Regions from separate parts of the Homo sapiens genome. Here region 1 is linked to region 2. Evidence: promoter capture Hi-C in human tissues and cell types (Jung and others, 2019). All regions are on one chromosome and are shown on one strand. Each heading gives the region's core, a stretch centred on a gene start or on the middle of the fragment in contact. The rest is flanking DNA. Distances are from core to core; before and after follow the strand shown.

Region 1 (4,151 bases), core at 380-2,879, 1.1 Mb before region 2:
CTTTGAGAGATGCTGGGGAGATTGGACTTGTGCGGGGAAGAGTTGGGTGTCTATGGATGGTGATGTGGGATGAAGAAGGTAGTCAGAGAGCAGGCTTTTAAAGAGTAATGTTATATTAGTAGTTTAGTAATATAGAGTTAGACATTTAGTATTTAGTAAAGTAGGTCATATTTATACTTGTTGTGTCATGGTACCTGTGGAATGCCATGGAAATGTCAAATGGACACTTCTATGTAGCAACCTGGAGGTCAGAAGGGAGGGAGGTTGCAGAAATAGGTCGATGAAAGAGGTCTTGAAAGGTGGCATGTCAACAGGAACAAATGCCGCTGAGCTGTCAGGCAAGATAATGGTGGAGAGGTGGCTGTTGGAGTTAGCATCAGATGGCACCGGTGATCTTGGCCAAATCAGACATCCAGACCAGAATTGCAATAGATGGTGCAATTGCAATCTTAGGTTGGATTTCCTAGAAACAGTGCCTCAGATCTCTTGTGGAGGTGATTTGTAAAAGTATGCACTTCAGGAAACATTTGTAAGGGAGGGAGCAAAGCCCATGAGGAAGGGGAATGCCTGAAAGGGGTAAAGCCTTGGCCTTGTGCTGGGGGAAGAGGGCTCTGTGAACTCTGCTTGTGGCAAAGGAGCTGTTTTTTTTCTTTTTTTCTTTTTGAGACGGAGTCTTGCTCTGTCGCCAGGCTAGAGTGCAGTGGTGTCATCTCAGCTCACTTCAACCTCTGCTTCCCAGGTTCAAGCAATTCTCCTGCCTCAGCCTCCCGAGTAGGTGGAACTACAGGCATGCACCACCACGCCCAGCTAATTTTTGTATTTTTAGTAGAGACAGGGTTTCACTATGTTGGCCAAGGTGGTCTCAATCTCTTGACCTTGTGATCCGCCCACCTCAGCCTCCCAAAGTGCTGGGATTACAGGCATGAGCCACCGCGCCCGGCTGGAGCTGGCTTTTAAACCCGGTATCAGTCTCAGTCAGTCAGTCACTGCAGGCCAGCATTTTACATGGGATGAAAGGAGGGATGGATGGAAGGGGTGGAGGATACATACCTGGTCCTTCCAGTTAAACTATTTAATAAATAATCATGACTGAGAATATAAGCCTTAGAAGTACTGTTATTGTTCTGTAAATTTTTTAAAAACACTTTGAGGATTCATTGTTATTTATGCTCCTTGCCTTGGAGGGACATCTTGGTTCTACATATGTATAAATGTCTAGCAGATTGAAAATCTGAAATTCTTCTTTCATTACTCTTCCCATACAGTGCTCTTGCACTATTCCTCTAAGAAAGCCAAAGACACATTATACTTGTTTTTTAGATGAGGAAATCAAGGTGCTGGGAAGTTTAAGAGAACTCTACAGCCATTCATCTAGCATAAAAGGGCTGACGTTAGAACGCAGGCCAGGCCTTTGCCTCTTCCCTACCCCATTCCAGTGGTTCTTGAAGTGGGATCCATGCCCTCCTGCAAGCAGAATCACTTGTTAAAAATGTAAACTCCAGGGTCCCTCTCTGGGGGCAGGGCCTGGGATTCCACATTTTCAAAAGCTCCTCTGTAATTAGTGCATACAAAGAAGACTCATTGTCTTGGAGCAGCACCCGCTTCTTACACGGGGAGTCTGGGATGGGAAAGAGGAAAGCAAGTCAGTGCAACTTGCACATGTCTTATCACAAACCATAGGGAAGGAGGTGCCTTGTGGTATAAATACTGAGTTTAATGCCATTAATATAAACGCTCATATTCCCAAACAGACTGCCTGTACTAGTACATTACTTCCATTTTCCAAAAAAGGAAAAGAAAGGTTCCGTGTCAAAGAACTCAATTGGAATCCTCGCTTGGTACTTGCTTCCTTGCCAGCAGTGCTCAAAAAGAGAAAAAGAAAATCCAAAGTCCATGTACATAAAAGTTCCATTCCCGATGGTGGAGGGCTTAATTAAAGTCCTCAGATGTTTCTGTGCACCTTGGAAAACATTTTTATGAAATTCATATATTACCAGAAGTGGCTCCAACAATTCTTGCAGTTAAAAACCTTGTAACTCATGCAGCTCCATCAGGAGCAAGCTGCCTTTTTCAAGATTTGTTTTGCTGCTTCCTTTACCTCCGTAGCCTGTGGCAGTGACGGCTGCTCAAGGGCCTTAACTGCCAGGATGGCACTAGAGGATTTTCCAAGGTTAAGGTCAGATAACAGAATCTGGAAGAAATGGATCCCTCTTCCTGCATTTCCTTTTCTCATTATTTCAATAAATGCATTGAAGGCTTGTGATGTGTCTGGCACTACAGCAGGCACTGAGGATGCCACGCTGAACAAAGCGGCTGGATCTTCATGGGGCTCATATCCTAGAGGGAAAGACATAATAAGCAGACTCTGCAGTGTCACACAACATCACCTAGGAAATATAGAGATGCAAGTGCTCAGGCGCCAGGCCAGACGTGAATTCAACTGTGGTAGCAAGACCTTGTATCTTCTGATGGGACGTTGAAGTGTGAGAACCACTGGACTCTCATATGGTGATAAACTTTGGAGAAAAAGGACGGAGGCAGGTGTGTTGCTGATGCCAGCAAATGTTAGAATAGTGAAACTGCTACACCCTGGACTATGAAGCAAGCCAGATTTGAATCCCAGCTCTGCTACTTACAAGCTGTGTAACCTCCGGCAGGCTACTTAATCTCTCTGTACCTTGGGTTCTCCTGAGAAATGGAGATAATAATAGTAGCTATCTTATAGAGATGTGAGGATTAAAGGAACTAATGAATATGAAAGTGCTGAGAATAGATTCTCACATATAGCAAACAATATACTTGTTGGGAGACAATTCTCTGGACAATTCTTGCATTTCTACACGTCTTGGAAGCAAGGCACTAAGTACCCTTTTGTTCCAAACTATCTTTGCAAGGATGTTTGTATATAACATCCTTGGAAGATTGAGATAGTGTCTCACTCTAGAGCAAAGAACAGACATGCTTACTCCCATTACAAAAGATTCGGTTTCCTAACTCAGAGTTCCTGTTCTTGAATGAAAGTCATGCAGTATACAGGTGTCTTTTGGCCCTCTTAACTGTCATACTGTAGGAATCAATGCAAAAATGCTGATGGCTATTTCTGTTGTGAGTAAATGTCTGAACTGAGAGTCTAGTGTCTTCTATCAGCATTTGTAAAACTGGCCAACTGACTTGCTAAGTTGCAAGTAGGGTGAAATCTCAGACCCTTCGTAGTCCTTGACAATTCTGTGAAAGTGTGTAAGTGTTTGTTAGTACTAATGTTGTTATTACTCCACAGTACGTGCCAATTTTCTGGAAGAAACAAAAATGTAATTGATGGCCCTAGCCTTCAAAGAGTTCCCAGTTGAGCCAAGGAGGTTAAATATGCGAAGATGACGCAAAAGACATACAGCAGCAGGAAAGCAAAGCTTTGGAATGAAACTTGGGTTTGAATGTAGGCTGTGGATGCTCACCAGCTATGGCAACTCTGAGCCTCAACAAATTTCTATTTGTAAAGTGCTGTTGTTAATAATGCTTACTGTGTGAGGTTGTGAACATTAAGATAGTGCATGGAGAGAGCTTAGCACGGGTCTGGCATGCAGTAAGCACTCAGTTACCATTACTGATGTTGCTGTATTGCATTTGTGCTTAGGATACAAGCAGAGCACTTTCTCTCCCCTCCCTGGGTCTTTAGGGAAGTAAGGCCCCAGTACTGTACTTCCTTTCAGGTGGAAGCTGCTTTCCTTGGAACCACCAAACCCCAACTCAGTATGTCCCTGGATTCTGCCCAAAGAATTCCCCAGGGCTAAGCTCCTATAGGTGGGTGGCTAAAGGACTGGCTTCAGAGTCAGACAGCTCTCAGTGGATATATACTTAGAGATTTAATATGATATATACTGCTTTGAAGTTTATGTGGTTTTTGATGATTTTATTAATGTGCATAATAGTCCTAGCATATAATATGTGTTCAGCCAATGTTAATCAGTGCCCTAGGCTACACCACCATGATCTAATGGGCCATTCAATTTTCATGACTGTATTCCTAGGATATTTCTCAATGACTCATACATGGTAGGTGTTCAGTAAATATTTGTTGATTTAATTGGCTTGAGTGAACAAAAGAAGTAATACGTCCTTTCATCTTTTCTTTCAAGATATTTCTGCATTAAATC
Region 2 (4,086 bases), core at 326-2,825:
CATATAATCGAAGCTGTGAGCACATGTGTCCAATGGAGCATTCGAGCCGAAGCAGAACTAATGCCGTTGGTACTGAACAGGGATGAGCTCCACGGCTCTGATAACTCCTCGAGATGAAACCTATCAGATGCTCTGAAAACTGCTGTGAGAAAACCTGCAAATGGAGAGAAAGGAAACAGCTCCCACCACTTACAGTCTAAATGAGTCGTGATTTTTTTTTCATTCATTAAAAACTGGGATTTTTTTTTTTAAGGAAATGCATGCCAAATACTTCTCTGTTAATGGGCCTAATTAAGGGACCTGGATTTCGATTATTTAATTTTTCAAAATTCCACTATAGGAAAAATAATAGAACCAAGATTGTTCAAATTGTTCTTGCAATGGTTCCTGAAATATTTCCATCTCAAGTCATTCACTAATACAGTATATCTAAATGTCTTGTTTTTGGAGTAAGGGATCGAAACTTGCTCTTTTAGGTACTACACCAAATTACTAACCTGCCTTTTCGAGTAGCCCAATAATTATTCTAACACGTAATTTTGAACTTTAGGAATTTCTCTTTTGGAACAGAAATCTTTTTCATCGCAGTGAAAGCAGGCAAGAGGATGCGGGAAATTATCAGGGGGAAACATAAGTTCTGGGTCTTATCGGATGTCACAGTTTTTGACCCGAGCATCAGGAAAGCGAAGCCACACAACGCGGCTCCTCCTAGCCCCGGCGCGGCAGCCTGGAGGGGATGTCTTTTTTGCAAAGCGAGTTCTCCAACTTTCCCGGGCCTTGGCGGAGCTCCGGGACCGCGCAGGGGTAAGTGGAGTGCCGGGGAAGGGGCGCTGGGGCTGGGGTGCCGGGGCAGGGGTGCCCTGTCCGCACGTACCCACGACAGTGAGCAGCATGTTGTCCAGCAGCAGCGCCAGGAACACGATGAACAGGATGAGCTTCCGCGAGCGGCGGCTCTCCTGCAGCCAGCGGACCAGCGCCAGCTCGCTCAGGGCCATGGCTCCGGGGCTCCGCTGCGGGCGCGGTGCGCGGTGAGGACCCAAGGCGGCCGTGGACCCCCCATTCTCCCGTCCCCCAGGCCGCGGAAGGGCGGGTCAGGGAGCCGCGCGCACCGGCATCCGGGGACACCCCCGGGCGCCCCAGCCTCGGCTCACCTGCCTCGAGCGCGTCCCCACGAGAGCCCGCGCTCCCTGGAAAGAGCGCCCGCGAGCGCCGTCGGGGACCCAATCTGGAGACCCAACCTAGAACCCCCAGGACGCTGCCCTGATCCCCGCCGCCCCCAACTGTGCCACCTCCCAAACTGCACGCTCGGCCCCGTGCACCTTGCGCCCTGCGCCCTGCGCCCCGGCTGCCCCGGGGTCCCCGCAGCCCCGCCCGCGTAGCTCTGGGGGCCTCCCTGCCTCCCTGCCTCCCCCGGGCCCGCTCCCCTCCGGCACCGCGCCCTGCGAGCAGGGAACCGGGGCCGTGTTACCTCGGGGTCGCTTGCGATGCCTGCCCGGGTCCTCCGTGCCCGCGCCAACGCCCGCACCGCAGTGGGCTCCGTCAGTCCGGGCGGCTCCGGGTCGCAGTCTCCGCCCCAGCGCCCCGCCGCCGCCGCTCAGTTTACCCCGTCCGGCTCTGACGTCACGGCCGGAGGGAGCGGGGGCGGGGGGCTGGGGCGCCCCGGCCTCCGCCCGCCCGCGCCGTCGCTGCGCAGGAGGGGCTGCCGCCTCCCTGTCCCCGCCTCGGCCGCGGCCGCGCCTCTTCCCCGGACCCAGCGCGTGGCCGAGTGCCTTGGGGACCCAGGCCTGGGGAAGAGGCAGGGGCGCAGAGGGAAAGAGGTCAGAGAGCCTGGACGAAGAGTGAAGGGCCAGGGACCAAGGCGAGGAGGCACGGACCAGGGCTTTCTTGTGGCTCCAAGTGGTGGCTCGAGCTGCTTTGAATAAATCACGTGGCTCTTTGAGCCTCAGTGTCCCTGAAATGGGCCGTGAGGACGGGAATGATGGCCGCGGGGTGAGATCGCCAGGGGTGACAGGTGCTGGGAGCCAGGGACAGGCTTCCCTTTCCTGAAGAAGCCACCCTTTGCACCCACCATCCCCTCCCCTCTCCGACCTCTGCAGCCCGATGCGGGGTGCCACTCGGAGGAGCCTTTGAGCCTTGGGCATCCTCAAGCTGGTGACTTGGAAACGGGGGGGGGAAGGGGACACTTTTCAGTGTCGCCCTATGGTGGGAGTTGGGGAGGTGAGGGTCCCAGGTCTCAGAAAGTGGGAGCAGTGGGTTTGGGCCTCTGGGGCCACCTGAGCAGGGGACCCTGGAGGCTAGGTGAGTACACCTGGCCTCAGAGAAAGGGCTAGGGGGCGGGCTGTGGGCGGGGCAGCAGGCCTAGGCCCTGTGTCCTGTACTCTCTCCCCACCATGCTGTGCCTGGGCGTCTGGGTGAGAGGTGGTTCCTAGAGCCAGGGGCCTGCGTGTGGCTGGTGCAGAGCTGTCATCCTCACTGCTAAGGGCTAAGAGCCTGCCTTTGATTTCCAGGTCCCTTTTATAAGCAAAGGAGAAACAAACAGATGCCCTCTGACATCGCTGGAGCTCTGCAGGCCCTCCGAGGGGACCGTGGGAGCAAGAGCTGTTTTCTTGAAAAGCTACCTAGAATAAATGTTACCCTGTCACAGTCTCTTAGCAGAAGAGTGGGCTTGTTTTATTAATGTTAGCTTGTTGACAGCAGGAGGCCACTGAGAACAGCAGTGTGATGTGTGGCTGCCCCCGCTCTCTCCACCTCCCTACTCCCTTGCAGAGACCCCCTGTGCTTCTCATTGCTACCCCATGTGTGAGAAGAGATGGTTGAATAGGTAAGTAGGTCAGGAACATGGGTCTCCAGGATGTCACAGGATGTGCACAACTTAAACATTAAACAGGGAGGACAGAAGGAAAACCACTTAGGAGGAGGAAGCAGATGGCAGAGAGCCGTTTAAGATGGCAGGAGGGTATCACTCAGGGAGTGCCCCAGAGTGCTTGCTCTGGAGTTTCAGAACCCAAGGATGCAGACTCTACCCCAGGGACCACATGGGGACAGAGAGGCATTATGGTAAAGGGTGCCTGCCAGGATGCCCAGGTCCCAGTCTGCTACTTCCTTGACTGGTGGCCTTGGGCTGGTTATGTATCCTCTTTGTGGCTTAGTTTCGCCATCTCTGGAATGGGGATACTCACTGGACCTACTGCAGCGTGGTTGTGAGAATTCCAGGGGAATGCATAGGCAGCTCTTAGCACAGTGCCTGGCACAAAGTGAGAGCTCCGTAAGTGCCGGCCCCTCATTCATGCGCTGAATATGTGTTGAGCTCTTACTACGTGCCAGGCACTATGGTTAATGCTGGGGAGACAGTAAAGCCTAGACAAATCCCTGCTGACATTCTGACCTGATAGCAGCATCATAGCAGTGAACACTGGAAGCCACACCAAACTCCAGCCCAGCCAGCTGGATGTAGATGGCTCCAGGGACAATGCCAGCCCGGCGTTCCCGCCTCCGGATCACTGTCACCACCCCTAGAGCACTATGGCCTATAACAGACTTTTTGTTGAAACCCCCTAAAAAATGTTTAACAATATGTTTGCCTTACACATTTTCAAGTTGGCATCTAAAATGAGTTTTTTAATCATATATTTAAATAGGGTATATTGTATTTATTGACCTTTATGTATAAAATTATTATCTCTCTCTTTTAAATATACCCAAAGGAATTTGTATAAGAATACAAAACTGCCATGTTATACTTAAGAATATAAACAAGTATCCCTTTAACAGTCAAAATATTTACATTGTGTTCTTTACCCCTTTTAAGTATGTTTCCATTCCGTTTTCCAACAGAATTGTATCCTACCCTAATGCTTTTATTGTTTAAATTCTGTATTCATCACCTATCTATTATGTGAACCACAATAAATATGTGAATATGCATTAGCTTTTTAAAATTTTCTACACGTGGACATAAAGATGGCAACAACAGACCCTGGTGGGGACTACTAAAGGGGAAAGGGAGGGAGGGGGGAAAAGGTTGAAAAACTAACTCTTGGGTACTATGCTCACTACCAGGGGGACAGGATCAGTCATACCCCACAC

The links. The method cuts DNA at HindIII sites, captures the fragments that hold promoters and counts their contacts. A contact is called where the count stands out against the background at its distance.
Region 1: a contact is called between a fragment that was not itself captured here and the fragment with the promoter of SLC18A2 in region 2, in 1 of the 25 tissues and cell types used here (bladder).

The regions. Positions count from the first base shown.
Region 1 is chr10:118,300,323-118,304,473 of GRCh38, reverse strand. FAM204A (family with sequence similarity 204 member A) reads left to right here. Exons shown (of 9, transcript NM_022063.3): 9 at 1-4,151. Among named protein-coding and RNA genes, the nearest start is that of FAM204A, 40 kb to the left of the region's middle. The HindIII fragment of the contact is 4,902 bases long and covers 1-4,080 here.
Region 2 is chr10:117,238,603-117,242,688 of GRCh38, reverse strand. It overlaps SLC18A2 (solute carrier family 18 member A2), which reads right to left and starts at 1,575. Exons shown (of 16, transcript NM_003054.6): 1 at 1,469-1,575; 2 at 875-1,010. The coding sequence starts at 995. SLC18A2-AS1 (SLC18A2 antisense RNA 1) reads left to right here and starts at 692. Exons shown (of 3, transcript NR_184310.1): 1 at 692-804; 2 at 906-1,028; 3 at 2,508-3,924. The HindIII fragment of the contact is 16,283 bases long and covers 1-4,086 here.